Regions from separate parts of the Homo sapiens genome. Here region 1 is linked to region 2. The links are contacts of gene promoters, found by promoter capture Hi-C in human tissues and cell types (Jung and others, 2019). All regions are on one chromosome and are shown on one strand. The core of a region is centred on a gene start or on the middle of the fragment in contact, and the rest is flanking DNA. Distances in the headings are between cores, read along the strand shown.

Region 1 (2,738 bases), core at 111-2,610, 1.3 Mb after region 2:
GAATATTACACTGTTTATCTCTTTTACATTCAGGCCATTATACTTAGTGTCCCTATGTATGTTTTCATCAATATCTTTATTTTTATTTTCTCCTTTTGAAAATGCTTGTCTCCAAATGGTCTAGATTTAATGAGATGTTCCAAAATGATACACAAAATTCTTGCACATTCTTTTTGCAAATTTCCCCAAAATATGATTTTACCAATTTGCTTTATTTTATCTATACACACACACCACACACAGGTACATATGGTTTTTCTGAACTCTACCCTAAAACCCAAGTGTGTATTTCATAGGAAGAAGAGCATTCTTTTGCATAATCAGAATACTGTGATCAAAATCAGAATATTGACATTGATATAGTATTATTATTTAAAATACAGAGCTTACTCAAATTTAACCATCTTACTAATATCTTTTTATGGTAAATGGGAAAAGAAGCCTTTTTCTGGACCTCTTCTTGTTATCTCACTTACTCTGTTGTGCGTACACTAGCTTTCATAACATCCAGAAGTCAGAGCTTGCTAATTATAACCAATTCTTTTTGGAAAGAAATCATATGGATGCAGTGAATGTGCAGTGAATACTTGTAAACTACTCATGACCATGCCTCAGAGAACTCATGCAGGAAACAAATCCCAGGAATCTCATGATTTTAGGAGAGCCCTTCCCAGTGAGTTAAAGCTCATTGCTCATCAGCAAACTCAAACAGGAGTGAGACCCTACTGATGCAATCAATGTCAAAAAGCCTTCATTACAAATTCAGGGCTTGTGTATCATCAGAAAACTCATCATAGAGAAGGGAAAGTCTGTACATGCAGCAAATGTGGAGAAGTTTTCCCTTGGAAGTCAGAACTCATTTTATGTCAAAGAAATCATTCAGGAGAGAGACCGTTCATTTGCAAAGTATGTGATAAAGGCTTTGTGGTTAGGACACATCTCACTGTACATCAGAGAGCTCACACAGGAGAGAAACCATATGCTTGCTCAGATTGTGAAAAAGCCTTCTCAAAAAAGGCTTTATTCATGATTCATCAGTGAATTCACACAGGAGAGATACCCTATTAATGCATTCAATGTCAAACAGCTTTGAAGACCAGATCTGAGCTCAGTTATCCTCAGAAAGTTCTTCATAGAAAAGGAAAATTCTATGGATGCAGTAAATGTGGGAAAGCTTTTCCTTGGAAGTCGAACCTCATTTTGCATCTCAGAACTCATTCAGGAGAGAGACCTTTCAGGTGCAAAGTCTATCATAAAGCCTTCATGGTTAGAACACAGCTAACTATACATCAGAGAACTCACACAGGAGAGAAACCATATGCTTGCTTGGATTATGAGAAAGCCTTCTTGAAAAAGGCTCAGCTTATGAAGCATCAGTGAATTCATACAGAAGAAAGACCCTATGGATGCAGTGAATGTCAAGAAGCTTTCATCTGGAAGTTGGATCTCAACAATCATAAGAAAACTCATCATGCAGTAAGGAAATCCCATGAATGCAGTGAATGTGGGAAGGTTTTATCCTCCAAAAAAAACTTTGTTATACATCAGAGAACCCATACAGGTGAGAAACCCTTCAAATGCAATGTATGTGATAAAGCCTTCACATCAAAGGGAAATCTCATTGTATATCAGAGAACTCATATAGGAAATAAATCATATGAATGCTCAGACTGTGATAGGGCCTTCTCCAGTAAGGTATATCTCATGACTCATCAGCCAATTCACACAGGAGAGAGACCCTATGATGCAATGAAGGTCAACAAGCTTTCACCCAAAAGACAGGTCTCAGTAAGCATCGAAAAACTTGCCATGCAAGAATGAAATCTTATGGATACAGTGGATGTGGGAAGGTTTTGTCCTGTAAGTCAACTCTCATTATATAACAGAGAACCTATACAGGTGAGAAACTCCTCAAATGTAGCATGTGTAATAAAGCCATCATAGTTAAATCCTGTCTCACTGTACATTAGAGAATTCATACAGGAGAGAAACCATATAAATGCAGTGATTGTAAGAAAGCATTCGCTACTTTGTAAACTCTCATTGGTCACCAGAGAACTCACACAGGAAAGAGGCCCTATAGATGCAGTGAATGTCAAAAAGCTTTACTCAGAAATCAGCTATTACTAATCATCAGAAACCCCAGCAGGAAGGAAGAAAGTCCATGCAGTGACTTGGAATATGAGAGAGCTTTTTTGATTAGTCACATCAGCTCAGACACAATAGAAGTTCCATGAATACTATGATTGTAATGGGCCCTTTTGGAACTCTTGTGGGAGAGAAACCTTATAGATGCAATGAATATTTTAAGCCTTCTTTTTTGAAGATATCCCTCGTTTACCGTAGAGATCTCACAAGAAGAATCATTGGCCAGGCGCATTGGCCCATGCCTGTTATCTCAGCACTTTGGGAGGCTGAAGCAGGCAGATCACTTGAGGTTGGGAGTTCGAGACCAGCCTGGCCAACATGATGAAACCCTGTCTCTACTAAAAATACAAAAAAAAAAAAAAACAAATAGCCAGGTGTGGTGTGCACACCTGTAATCCTAACTACTCAGGAGGCTGAGGCAGGAGAATCTCTTGAACCTAGGAGGTGGAGGTTGCAGTAAGCCGAGATTGCACCAGTGTACTCCAGCCTGGGTGACAGAGTGAGACTCTGTCTCAAAAAAAAAAAAAAAAAAAAAAAGAGAGAGTCAATTATGAGTGCAGTGATTGTCAAAAAAGTTTATTAGAAAACTA
Region 2 (2,874 bases), core at 230-2,729:
TATTTCATGGTTTATGTTCAATTGTAGTAAAATTACTTTTTATTTTTTAATATGATTTTCCCTTTTATTTTTTTCTTTCATATATTGTAACCCAGATGAAACGTTTAATATTTTGTTAAAGTGAAAACTATACGGTGTATATAAATAAGGGTGTTGTTTGGAGATAAAATTGTGTGACATGAAAATGTACATAAGACAATAGCAGGTATAAACTAGGTTCTCTATAAACATGAAAAAAGGGTATCCCTGTGAGTCTTTAGTTCAGTCAATGTACTGGGATGGTACGTTAGAAATACTGGAAAACTATTCTTTAGGCGAAAATAAATCCAATTGTCATGTGGTGACTATTTTCCACACTCTGTTATCCACATCTGATAGAACATTAAGAAACAGAAAACAAAAAAATAGACCCAATATAGATTACAATTTTAAAATAAAAAGTACTGTGTCAAGTTCCCTTCAGAATGCCCATAAAGTGAATTTGAAATTACATGATATTTAGAAATTATTGATTTAAGCATATTTTGATGCAAAGAAAGATTATGTCAAAGTTGTTTGTGGTTAAGTCATTTCAAGTGTGGAACGGAATAACGAATATAAGCAAAAATAATGCAGTTTATCTCTATTTTTTAAAAATTCACATGGTTTAAATCAGTAGTTGACTGGGCACAGTAGTTCACTCCTGTAATCCCAGCAATTTTGGAGGCCCAGGCAGGAGGATTGCTTGAGGTCAAGAGTTGGAGACCAGCCTGGGCCGAGACTCCCATCTTTACAAAAATATATGTTTTAAAGAACAATAAAGCAGCCCTTGGTGATCTAACTTATCGGCCTTAACCTTCCCATGAATTGAGCACAGGCTTGACTCTTCCACTGGGGAGAATGGGGATTTGAAATGTAAAGGAGGTTCTGTTGGGCTACTGCATTAAATTGCATATCCGTCCAGGTAGGATGCTGCATTTCCCATTCTACTTTGAATCATCCTCAGAGATAATTTCCAGACATTTTAGTTAAATTAAATACATTTTAATTGCAGGAATTGCTGGATCCAATCGCCGTGCCTCGTGGATCCTCCACTAAGATCCCAGTTCCCAGACCGAGATCCCCGATTCCCAGATCCCCGTTCCTGAGCTGCAGCAGACTCCCTAGCAGGACTGGGTCCAACCCGCCGGCAAACAATTTTAACATAAACCGTTTTCAACTTGGTAAGAGGAAATCATTTTGGTTTCTATCATAAGTGGTCCACGTAAGTCTATTCTTTCACCTTAAAACTGCTTCAAATTGGAACGGTGCTCCCGGGGACATAGTGAACACTCCAGCGTTTCTAAACCGGGAAAAATGAGACTGCGGGCTAGGCAGGCTGAGGGAAGCGCAGACCCCGCCCCAGCTCCGCCCCAGCGTTTCGTCCGCAGACCCCGCCTCTCCCCAGGCCCCGCCCCCAGAGTGCCCGGGCTCTTTTCCGCGCACGCGCAGTTTTCTGCAGTTCCGGAAGCGGATCGTGTTGGGTGCGGGTGACGCCGCCGAGCGTGAGTGTCCCTCAGTATGGATTAAACTTGCGAACCGCCGTGCCCCGTTTCCGCAGCCAGTTCCCGGGCTCGCTACAGACCTTTTTTTTTTTCTTTTTTTTTTTTTTTGGTGAGACGGAGATTTACTCTTGTTGTCCAGGCTGGAGTGCAATGGCGCGATTTCGGCTCACCGCATCCTCCGCCTCCCAGGTTCAAGCGATTCTCCTGCCTCAGCCTCCCGAGTAGCTGGGATTACAGGCATGTGCCACCACGCCCGGCTAATTTTGTATTTTTAGTAGAGACGGGGTTTCACCGTGTTGCCCAGGCTGATCTCGAACTCCTGACCTCAGGTAATCCGCCCGCCTCGGCCTCCCAAAGTGCTGGGGTTACAAGCGTGAGCCACTGCGCCCGGCAGCTACAGACCTTAAGATCCCCGCACCGCGCCCTCCACCCCAGCTGACTCGCGGTGTGGGTTCGGAGTCGCTTCTCTTTGGGTTGAAGTAGCTCTGAGGCTTCTCCCTGTCCCCGGCCTTTCGCGTCTTCCTCCCGCTTAAAACCCTTTCCTGACCCCTCCTCCCGCCCCGGGCTTTTTAAAGTCCTCGCCCGCGAGGTGGATTCCCGCCCTGGGTGCCTCCCAGCCTCGCCCTCGTCGGCCCCTGGAGCGCAGCTCCTCAGCCCCGGTACCGGCGAGGCCGCGTCCTCTGCCTGGTCCTGGCATCCTGCAGACCCCACCCCTCTTCTAAGGCGCCGTCGCCCCGCCACCTCCCTCCTCCTCGTGCCGGGCCCTGCTGCTCCCCAGGCCTCCCCTTCGCAGTCCCCGCTTCTCCTGAGCCCGCGCTGGGGAGGTGCCCGGGGCCTGTCCTGTGACACCCGGTGTTCTTGCCTGCCCAGCTCCAGCCCCTGGAAAATGCGCTCCTCCAAGATGCAGGCGTCTTAGTCCAAACCTTCCTGTGAATGTGTGGACCAAGGGGATTAGCAGGTAGAGAAAGGGGCAGAGACAGAGAGAGAAGTAGAAAAACTGAGAGGAAAGAGTGAGGGAAACCCGTAACCAGATGGCAAAGTAGAGGATGGGCGAGGGATTTGCAGATGGTAAGAGAAGGAGCTGAGAAGGCAGAAGGAGAAAAGCAACTGGGGAAATGTAGAGAAAAGCTCGATGTCCAGAGACATGAAGGACAGCAAGGTAGGGAGAGGGCCAGAAAGTGGGAGGCTCCTCAGACAGAGTCCGGGAGAGGAGGAGGGATTTGGAGCCAGGGCAGACAAGCAGCGTGGTGCTGGGACAGCAAGAGGGGACAGCCGGTGACGAGGAGAGCAGAAGGAGAACCACAGCAGGGGGAGGCCTGGGATCTGGGGGTGCCAGAGAGTGGGGCAAGAG

What was found. Contacts are between HindIII fragments. The study calls those that stand out against the background at their distance.
Region 1: a contact is called between a fragment that was not itself captured here and the fragment with the promoter of ZNF347 in region 2, in 1 of the 25 tissues and cell types used here (adrenal gland).

The regions. Positions count from the first base shown.
Region 1 is chr19:51,861,061-51,863,798 of GRCh38, reverse strand. It overlaps a transcript of ZNF577 not described here and the pseudogene LOC100419706. Among named protein-coding and RNA genes, the nearest start is that of ZNF577, 26 kb to the left of the region's middle. The HindIII fragment of the contact is 3,923 bases long and covers 1-2,738 here.
Region 2 is chr19:53,157,658-53,160,531 of GRCh38, reverse strand. It overlaps ZNF347 (zinc finger protein 347), which reads left to right and starts at 1,479. Exons shown (of 5, transcript NM_032584.3): 1 at 1,479-1,523. RefSeq lists a silencer at 1,297-1,546 and an enhancer at 1,282-1,576. The HindIII fragment of the contact is 7,458 bases long and covers 1-2,874 here.